2 separate regions of the Homo sapiens genome follow, and region 1 is linked to region 2. The links are contacts of gene promoters, found by promoter capture Hi-C in human tissues and cell types (Jung and others, 2019). All regions are on one chromosome and are shown on one strand. The core of a region is centred on a gene start or on the middle of the fragment in contact, and the rest is flanking DNA. Distances in the headings are between cores, read along the strand shown.

What was found. Contacts are between HindIII fragments. The study calls those that stand out against the background at their distance.
Region 1: a contact is called between a fragment that was not itself captured here and the fragment with the promoter of SYT13 in region 2, in 2 of the 25 tissues and cell types used here (dorsolateral prefrontal cortex and liver).

Annotation. Positions count from the first base shown.
Region 1 is chr11:45,329,196-45,334,324 of GRCh38, forward strand. No RefSeq gene overlaps it. Among named protein-coding and RNA genes, the nearest start is that of LINC02696, 24 kb to the right of the region's middle. The HindIII fragment of the contact is 4,072 bases long and covers 1-3,822 here.
Region 2 is chr11:45,284,753-45,289,750 of GRCh38, forward strand. It overlaps SYT13 (synaptotagmin 13), which reads right to left and starts at 1,589. Exons shown (of 6, transcript NM_020826.3): 1 at 1,273-1,589. The coding sequence starts at 1,455. RefSeq lists an enhancer at 984-1,770. The HindIII fragment of the contact is 8,257 bases long and covers 1-4,998 here.

The DNA.
Region 1 (5,129 bases), core at 537-3,036, 45 kb after region 2:
AGGTACCCTGTTCTCAACCTCTGACTGGCTGTCACCTTCAGACTGCTTTTAATGGAGCAAAACGCAAGCTTTGCAATAATAAGGGGCTTCAACAAAAGCCTGTTCAGAACAGAGAGAGAATTTGAGGAATCTCAAAGCTGAAATCAGTCTGGTTAAGTTGGGAAATGCAGTGCTACAAGTTGGGCCAACAGCCCTAGAGGCCTACAGGGACAGAAGGACCCAATCTTTCTACACTTGGGTTTCTGTTCTTGTGTGGGTCCAATTTCTAGAGTTAAACTTCAGGCACAATTTCTAGATGTGCAACAGTAGTAGCTCTTATCAATGGAGCACTTCCAGTGTGCCTGGCTCTGTGCTGACCCCATTACATGGATTCATTATTTGGCTTCTAGAGTGGGTAGAATGGTGGCCCCCAAAAGATACATCTGTGTCCTAATGCCCAGAACCTGTGAATATGATCATATTTGGAAAATTGATCTTTGGTGATATAATTAAGAATCCTGGGTTGGAGTCATACTGTGTTATCTAGGTGGGCTCTCTATCCAATGACAAGTGCCTTTATAAGGGATCCATGAAGAAGAGACAGAGGGACAAAGATTGGAGTTCTGCAGCCACAACCCAAGGAACACAAAAAGGCAAGAATAGATTTTCTTTTTTCTTTTTCTTTTTTTTTTTTCGAGACAGAGTCTCGCTGCTTTTTCAAGACAGAGTCTCGCTGCTTTTTCGAGACAGCGTGTCGCCCACGCTGGAATGCAGCGGCACGATCTCAGCTCACTGCAACCTCCGCCTCCCGGGTTCAAGCAATTCTGCTGTCTCAGCATCCCAAGTAGCTGGGACTACAGATGCACATCACCACGCCCAGTTAATTTTTGTATTTTTAGTAGGGATGGGGTTTCCCCATATTGGTCAGGCTGGTCTCGAACCCCTGACCTCAGGTGATCCACCTGCCTTGGCCTCCCAATGTGCTGGGATCACAGGTGTGAGCCACCATACCCAGCCTAGATTTTCTCTATAGCGTTTGGAGGGAGTGCAGCCCTGCCGACACCCTGATTTCAGACTTCTAGCCTCTAGAACTGTGAGTGTGTAATTTTCTGTTGTTATAAGCCACCCAGTTTATAGTAATTTGTTACACCACCCAAAGGAAATAGAGGAGTCTCCCATCAACTCTGGAAAATAGACACAGTCATCTTCCATTTTATAGATTAGGAAACTGAGGCACAGGGCTTGGATAACTTGTCCAGGGTCCCAAAGGCAGGAAAAAGCAGCACCAAGATGAAAAACCAGTTAGAATGACCCCAGAGACCATCCTCCCAGCCACAGTCTGTGATGCCTCCTGCTCTGCTAGACTGCTGGAATGTGCCTAAAATAAGTAGGCATTTGTCCCCATTTTGCAGATGAGAAAAACAAGGCAACCGTGAAGTAACTGTTGGGGAAAATAAAACTGGGATGGAACATTGAAATTCAAAAGTAGTTCCTTGTATGCCTCTTTTCTTCATGCTCACAACCAGCCAGAGAAGTGGTTGTTACAACGTCCATCTTCCAGATGGGAAGATTAAAACAGTAGCTCTTTGAGGGAGGGACTGTTCACCATTGCTACCCTGAGCTAGCCCTGAGCCTGGCTGAGGTAGCTCAGGGAGGTGTGGTCATTCATCCAAGATCATGCAGCCTGCCAACATGAGGCCAGGGACTCAAGCCTGGGTTTTCTAATGCCAAAGCCTGTGTTTTCCCTCTGCTGAACAAATGCTGACCTCTGTTATCTCCAGACTATATGAGCAAATGGGTGGAGGGCAGAGAGACACTGTGAGGCCTGGAGAGAATGTTGGTGGCAGCTTTGAGACTGGGGTTGGGGGTGGTATGCCTTGATGACTAGAAGGGTTTGGACAGGTGAAGGAAACAGGACAGAAGAGATAAACTGACACCCAGCATGGGGATGCCAGGGTCTAGAGGCAGGAGGGAGGCTGGGAACCAAGGCTAAGGAAGGAAACCCAGATTTACTCTTCATCCTCCCTCTTCCTGAAGCTCTCCATGTACCCCAAAGCCCAGCCCCCAGTGATAACACTACAGGCCTGTGCCCTAATGGCAGGCCATGCATCAAAAGTCAGAAGATAGTGGGGCAGCCATGCTACTGCACACAACTTGATACATTTCCCAGGAGCCCTGGAATGTCGGCTCAGCTTCGGGAGTCACATCTGACTTCTCTAAGCTTCAAGGCAGTGTTCAGAAGTGAGAGGTGTCCTTCCTCTCCTTCTCATGAGTCTGTGTGGATGGTCAGAGAGCCGTATGTTCTCGTACACACCGTTTTCGAAAGGAGACAGTCCTTGACTTGAGTTTTAGGAATTCTCTTCCCAGTCTTTAGTCATTGATTTCTAGAAAAAAACCTTTTCCTCTTTATTATTTAACTTCTGCCTTCATCCCTGCCACCCAGGCTGAAGAACTGACAGTGAAGTATGCTTTCCTCAAAGGCAAGAGAAGGACAGGGTTATGGAGAGAGTCCTGGCCACGAGACGGGATCTCAGGGGTTTAGTATTAGCTCTGCCTTTAATTGGAATAGTGAGGATGAGTTTGGGTGCTGGAGTCAGACAGGTGCAGGTTCAAGTCCCAGCTAGACCACTTTCAGGCTGCATGGCCTTGGCCAAGTGGCTCAACCCCTCTGAGGCTATAAAATGGGAGTAATTGTGTTTGCAAAGCAGAGATTTGTGGGGAGGATGCATGAGCAAATGCACCGGCTCCGTAGAGCTCGGTACATAGTGAAGCTTCAGTGCTAATGATTATCATGACATTAGGTCTCTTACACCCCCTTCCTTCCCTGACTCAACTAAGTCATGCTGCTGGTCCTTGTCTGCCAGGCTCTAGCACAAGCCAAGAAGTCTCCCTCTTGTGGTTCCTTATTCCTGGAATTCTTGGCCCCCAGCTCCTTGAAAGCCTGGCTGCTCTTCATCTTCAGGCTCGGGGGAAATGCCACCTCCACACAGATCTTGTTCCTGTCCCTCCATCTCTTAACCCCCTCCCCACAATTGCTGATAATTGTGTTGATCTGATCACTTCTCATTGCCCCTGTGCTCCACTCGCCTGCAGCCTTGGTGTGGGAAGGGGCCACGTCTCTCCTGCCACTCTTGTGTCTCCATCACCCATGAGTGTTTGTGCAGTGACATGGATTGACTCAATGAACATTCAATTAACATTTGTTGATTTAATGAGTCACGATGTCTGACCCTGGGTAAACAACACGACACTTGTGGGATTCCGTTTTTCTCATCAGAAAAATGAGGAGGTTGGAATAAAAGGCTGAAACATATTATTTCCCCTAAGTTTCCCATGAACCTGTGAATGAATTCAACGGAACCAGGGAGTTAAGGTGCAGAATTGTTACAGAAACATGGCCTCTTTCTGCCCTCTAGTGGACGAGATGGTGAATGGCACTTCATCATCCCCACCGCCGCCCCCACTCTCCCGCCACTGTTTCTAATATATTAGCCCTGCCAAGAACCACTTCAGAAAGGAAAATATTCAGTGGCCAGAGAAAAGGGGCCATGTCTTCTTCATTAGGGTACACCCAGAGTCGAGCAGTGAAGCGTGGGAGACAGCTAGATTCAGCAGGAAGGGCACTGGTGGGACTGGGACCACCACCTACTCCCTGGGTGAAGTTGGGCGTGGTTCTGTCCTCTCGGAGCCTCTATTTCCCCATCTGTGCAGTGGGCATAATAACATCTACCTCACAACTGTTGTAGGATTAAGTAATGTAAAGTGTCTGGAATGTGGTAGGTCCTTAATCAAGGTTGGTAGCCTCTTGGCTCTTTATACACTTTGTATGAATGAAACGCAGTCACAGACACAAAGGAAAATGTTACAGCCTAGAAGAAAAAGCAAGAAATGTGTGTAAATGAGTAGGAAACGGGTTTATGTACCGGGGAAACATCCTCGACTTGATGTTAGGAGCTTTGAGATTTAGATTTATGAGCTCTGACACTAACAAGCTCTGGGACCCTGGGAACGTTCTGTCTGTCGCCTCTCTGGACCTCAGCGTTGTCATCTGGGAAACAGAAGGTTAAATGACAGCATCATCCAGAAGGCACTCAGCTTCAGGAAACAGAAAACACAACTGACGGTGAGTAGATCCAGGGTCGGCAAACGACAACCCACTTGCCAAATCTGTTTTTGTGCCGCCTGTGGGCTAAGAATGATTTCTACAATTTAAATTGTTGAAAAAAATCAAAAGAATAAATAATATTTTGTGACACATGAACATTATATGAAATTCAAATTTCAGTTTCTATAAATAAAGTTCTGTTGGAACCCAGCCACACTCATTTGTTTATGTACTTATCTAGGGCTCTTTTCCCGTGACAATGTCAGAGTTGAGTGGTTGCGGCTTGGAAAGCTGAAAATATTTACTATGTGTCCATTTGAAAGAACAAGTTTGCTGACCTCCGACTTCACTAATAAAGATATTTAGCTGTCTCACATAACCATAACATTCCCGCTGTTCTCTTGGTCTTCTCTCCTGATCACAAGATGGCAGCCTCGATTCCATGAGTCACATCTACACACAGCCTACATTTAAGACAGGAAGTAAGGAGCAGGGGGAGAGAAAAGACTTTCTTCTGCCGTGATTCCTGTGCCCAGAAAGAAAATATTTCCCGGAAGCCCTGCAGGAGGCTTCTCCTATCTCATTGGCCGGAATGAGGTCACATGGTGGACCCTGGACCAATGCCTGCAAAGGACCTACCCTTCCTGAGATGAAGGGATCTGGCCTTCTAACAGAGACAAAAACCAGGGCTCTGTTAGCATGAAAGAAAGGGGGCAGGGGGCACGTGCCGACCAAAATCATTAAGACCCCTTGCCTAATAGCATCTCCAGGTTCCAGTTGCATGAGCCTTTTCAGAACTTAAATTTGAAAGCTTTTCGTTGACATATTTTCTCCACTTCAATCCTCTCTCTGGAACTCAGGATGTATTTCTGAGCGATTTTCTTCATTTATAATTTTTTTTATTTGGGCTTCCTTATTTATATTTATTTATTTGTTCATTTTTTTGAGATGGAATCTTGCTCTTTTGCCCAGGCTGGAGTGCAGTGGTGCGATCTCGGCTCACGGCAATCACCACCCCCGGGTTCAAGCAATTCTCCTGCCTCAG
Region 2 (4,998 bases), core at 339-2,838:
ACTTGTGGAGAAGGACTCCCAACACCTGGCCAGTGGAAAGCCCACTATTCCCCTTTTCCAGATCGTCCCAAGTCCCACATTCTGCTGTGCAGCCGGCTCCTATTTAGCCACTGTCAATGTCACTGTTCTTGGATTATAAGTGCCTCAAGGACAGCAGCCATTTCCTTTCCACTCTCACTGTACAGTGACTGACACAGGCCCCACACAACTGGGTCCTCTGAGCTTTTGAATTATTGATTGGAAAAAGGAAGATGGAGTCACAGCATTTTAGTGCCACTCCTGGAACCATACAGTCTATAAGGGATCTAGAGGGCCTTTAGGAGGTCCTTTAAGTCATGCCCCTGCCCCAGGGCCATCCTTCCTCAAATCACTCTAGCAGGACTCTTTGCCTCCTGGTTCTCCAGAGAACATTCTGCATTCTGTACTTTGGAAATGCATCCTGGAGGTCACAGCCTATGCAGGGAAATCCTTCCAAACTGCTTCCCCAGACCCCTTCTGCTGCTCTTTACAATGGGAGCACGGGCTATTTCCTGCACGAAGGGGCTCTGGCCATGAGCAAATGCATGGGATAAAAGCCCTCCTGTCTCCAGGGACGTCTGCAGAGACATCTTGGGGGAGGCCATACCAACCCCCTCTGACTGGCTGGAGCTCAGAGCTGCTAGGGGGTGGGGAAGAGTCCTTCAGGTTCCTCCCGGATTCAGCTCTCTAGACCCCGCTAGCTAGCTTCCCAGCTCCTGCGGGACCGCGGCCACCTCCCCTCTGGCTTTGCAGGCATTACCTCTTCTCAGCTCTGGCAGGACTTGCCCTACCCTGGCTCCACAACCACCACCCATCTCCCTCTCACAGACCCCAGTCTTCTTCCCAATTCTGCAAACTCCTCATTCTCTGGTACCTCTCAGGGTCTTCCCTAACCCTGGCGATTCCCCTCCCAGCCTCCCTCTCCTCTTACCCTTCCCAGCCCTAATTCTTATCCAGGTCCCCTTTCCTGTCCCCTCCCTTTAGGTCTCGCTGCTGGCCCCCATTCTTCTCTCAGTCCCCACAAGCTCGCCGCTCCCTAATTCTCCTTCAGGTCTCGTCTCCCCCATCCCCTAGCCTCCCCCATCCCCCTACCTTTTTGACTCCTTGACCTGTCCTCCAACGCGTCTGCTGTCCCCTCCCCGCCAAGCTTTGTCGCGCAAAGATCCACGACCGCCTCCCACCCCAGTTCCCCCTCTGCAGCTGCCCGGCAACCCCGCCTTGCCCGGGAAGGGCCTGCGCGCCGCCCCCGCTCACCTGTTGTGCAGACCCGAGCAAGCTGGGCTTCGCCTTCTCCAGGTCGGGGTCCTGGTCCCGCGGCAGCAGCCCCTTCTTGGGGTGCATGTGCCGACACAGGCAGGTGACCCCGCACAACGCGAGGATGCTGGTGGCTGTGCCCAGCGTGGCGCCCAGCGCGATCACAGGCACCGACAGCACCATGGTGCCCGCTCCCGGCGAGGGGCTGGGTCCCGCAGCCGCTCACCTTCCCCGGGCCGGGCCCGCCTCCAGGCAGCTCCCGGGATCCGGGCGAGCCAGCAGCTCTCCCGCCGCCAGAGGGGCGGGGACGGAGGGAGGGAGGACGGCTGCGAGGACGTCAGAGGAGGCTGGACCCGCAGCCACGTCAACCGGCAACCCCCTCCCCGCCAACACGTGACCGGACCCCCACCCCAACAGGAGCCGGAGCCTTCCAGGTGGAAGGAGCCTTGGGGTTGTTTCAGGCCATTCTTAATGCTTTGTGTACAACAGGGGACAACTGGGCCCAAGAAGTGCTGGAGCTTGCGGAGGTCACACTGTGTTAGAGGACAAACCTGGGCTCCAACCAGATCTGCGACTCTAGGAGTCACTTTCCCAGACTACTAGCTCCTTGCTCACCCTTCTACCCCAGCAGCTGGCCAAGCTGGCTGTAAAATTGGGTCTTCCGGGAGCTTTTTCAAACACAAAGCTGGAGATTTCCCAGCTCCCCAACCTGGGAGATGGTTCTTACAGGGAAGAGGAACAGGCCACAGGTAGAGGGAACAGATGGGATGTTTGGGTTGAGGCTGTACCTGTGTCCTGCTGAAGATGGACAATACAGCTGCATCCCCTTAAGGGTTGCCCAAGAGTTCACCTTTATTACCTAATCAGCAGGTATTCGCACCTTTATATATAGTTGAGGAAGCCGAGGCTCAGAAGAGAGGTGCACAGGTAGAAAAATCATCACCCTGAACCCAAGCTTATGTTTGCAGATTCCAAGTCCACACTCAAACGGACTTGTCTTAGGAGGATAAAGAAGATAAAATGCAGCAGCTAGGAGTACACACTTGATTCAGAGAGGGTGAGCATAAAACTATGCTTAGAACAAGGGGAAATTAGAATTCCGGGCATGAGGACTGTCTTAGCTCAAGAAAACAGTGGCTTTTTAGTGTTCTTCATTATATGGAGTGTTGAATTTAATTCAGCAGATATTTGCTGTGGGTTGGCTGTGCTCTAGGTGTGCTGGGCATGTGTGAAAAGGGATGTAGGTGATTTCATCCACAACAGAGCTTTCACATTTCTATGAGCCAATGTCTCCTAAATCTATAGCCTCTCCAGCCAGACCTTTTCCTCTGAGCTGTAGCTGTGACCACCACCTGGGAACCCACCCGTCCTCCAGTTTTTCAGCTATCTACACTTGCATAAAAACCCACCGATGACTTACTGGCTTAGACCAGTTATTGTGTTACTTGTCATGATTTCATGGGTTGGCTGGGCTCAGTTGGGTGGTTTTCCTGCTCAACATGTTGTCTTCTGGGACTGCAGTCATCTAGGGGTTCAGCTGGACTGGGACATCAGCTCTCCAGACACCATTGCAGATGGTGCAATGGTGAACTCACGTGGTGAGCAGTAGGTGCTGGCTGCCACTGGGATCACAATGGGGCTGTCAGCTGGTGCATTTTGGTTGTCCTCTATGTCACCTCTCCATGGTGCTGGAGCTGCTCACAGCATGCTGGCTGGATTCTAAGAGGAATGAAGCAGAAGCTGCCAGTTGTCTTAAGGCCTGGGTTCAGAAATTCTAGAACACTATTTGATCAAAACAATAGTCTCCCTCTAGTTCTTTCCTTCAGTGACATCAAAAGGAGGTGTCCAAAATACAAAGCTGATCATGTCACTCACAGCTCTCAAAGGTTCTCCAAGAATAAACCCAAGAGACTCAACCTTTATCCAAATCCCTTTGTGATGTGGTCCCTGCTAAGCCTTCCAGACTCCTCTCTACACACTTCCCAATGTGCCCCTGAGCCTCAGCCACCCCATGGACTTGGGATTCCTTCAACAAGCTAACATCTTTAGAGTCTCCATGTTATCACCCATGGGTGCATATAGCAGGCACTCAGTAACCGTGGAATAATTCATATGATCATCTTATGCAGAATTTCCAGTGTTTTGAAGGAATCCCATTTGTGATATGAGCTCCATTTTAGTAAACTGACTTTTCCACAAGTATTTATTGTGTGCCTGCTGTATGCCAGGCACATTTTCCTACTGATCCCCATTTGCTGCAAACTGTAGAGCTGAAGCACTGCAGTCCCTGGTGACAGCCTTAGCAATCTCTCACATAAGAGCTGCCCTGGGAGGTTTTCTTGGCTCCGGGCCTGGCAATGCAAAATGTTTTGTGGAAATAGAGGTTTAATTAATGCTGTCAGCTCCAGGTCTCCCATGCTCAAACGGCTGCCCTGGGAGACCATCAATGCCACTACTCATAACAGGATCTGGGGTGGGGTTAAAGGGGAAGGATGAAGAACACTTAATATCAGAAAATGTCTGATGGGGAATCAGACACCTGTCACATGATCCATTGTTACTATGGTTACTGGGATGACAGCAGCTGCAGTGGCCTTCATTTATAACAGGAAGAGGGACCCCAGCCCAAGAAGAAGAGCTTGCCTTGTGCCTCTTTCACACACAGTGAACCTATGGCAGAGCTAGGAATAGACCCCAGGGGATCCAAAGCCCAGTTGAGTGATCAGGACTCTGGGCTACCTTTGCTACCCAACCAGTCACCCTCATATATCTCATCAAAGATACGATGTTTGCTTCTTGGCTACTGATATGCAGACAGTGGCCTTTAATGACAACCCACAGAAAAAAGGCATCACTAGGTTCCTTTGAAAAATGAGAGTATGCCTATTGGGAAAGGCAGTTAACTGAGTCAGCTGAGTGGATCAGTTAAGACAGTCTGAGGCTGGGACCCACAAATAATTGGAAGTGCTGAGGCCACATTTCTAAGAGCAGACAGAGCAAGATGCTTAGGAGGCATCTACGAGGCTGAGGGATGGATCTTTGAAGGTTCCCCAGCCTCTTGATGAAATGTTCCCATTGTTATTTTGATCAATATTGTACATGTTAGATGTTTAAATATTCTGAATAATCACTCTGAACTTCTAAGGTACTAAAATGCTTTTATCTGGAGAAAAGGATTTCAAATATAGGAGGTTCTCTTATTTAGCAAACATTTGTGGTGTCTACATATGGTGCTATGCAGGAGGGAGGAAAATATACCAGCGGAATAACTGAATTTTAACATTGCAACGATTTCAGATATCACCTGTGGAATCCTTTTATTTTACCAATAAGGAAACGGAGATTCAGAGACATCATGGCTTGCCCAAAGAGTAGGAGTTAATGACAACTGGGATGGTGTTTTAGGTCAGGGTAAACTGGATTCTGCTGCAGTAACAAATAACTCAAAATGTCAGAGATGAACTCAATAAAAGCGTACATCTCCCTCCTTTCTCAATTGAAGGAGGGTCAGATGACTCATTTGGTCAGCTCTTCTCCAGTTGGTGACTCAGGAATCTGGGCTGCTTCTGTCTTGTGATTCCTTCACTTCCAGCCATGCAGGGAAGAGAAAGAGACTTGAGGACTACTTGTGGCATTCTAGAGGACATGGCTGGAAATGGAGGACACAGAGCACCCCATTCCACTGGCCAGAATTTGGTAACAGGACAAATGTAACAGCAAGAGAGG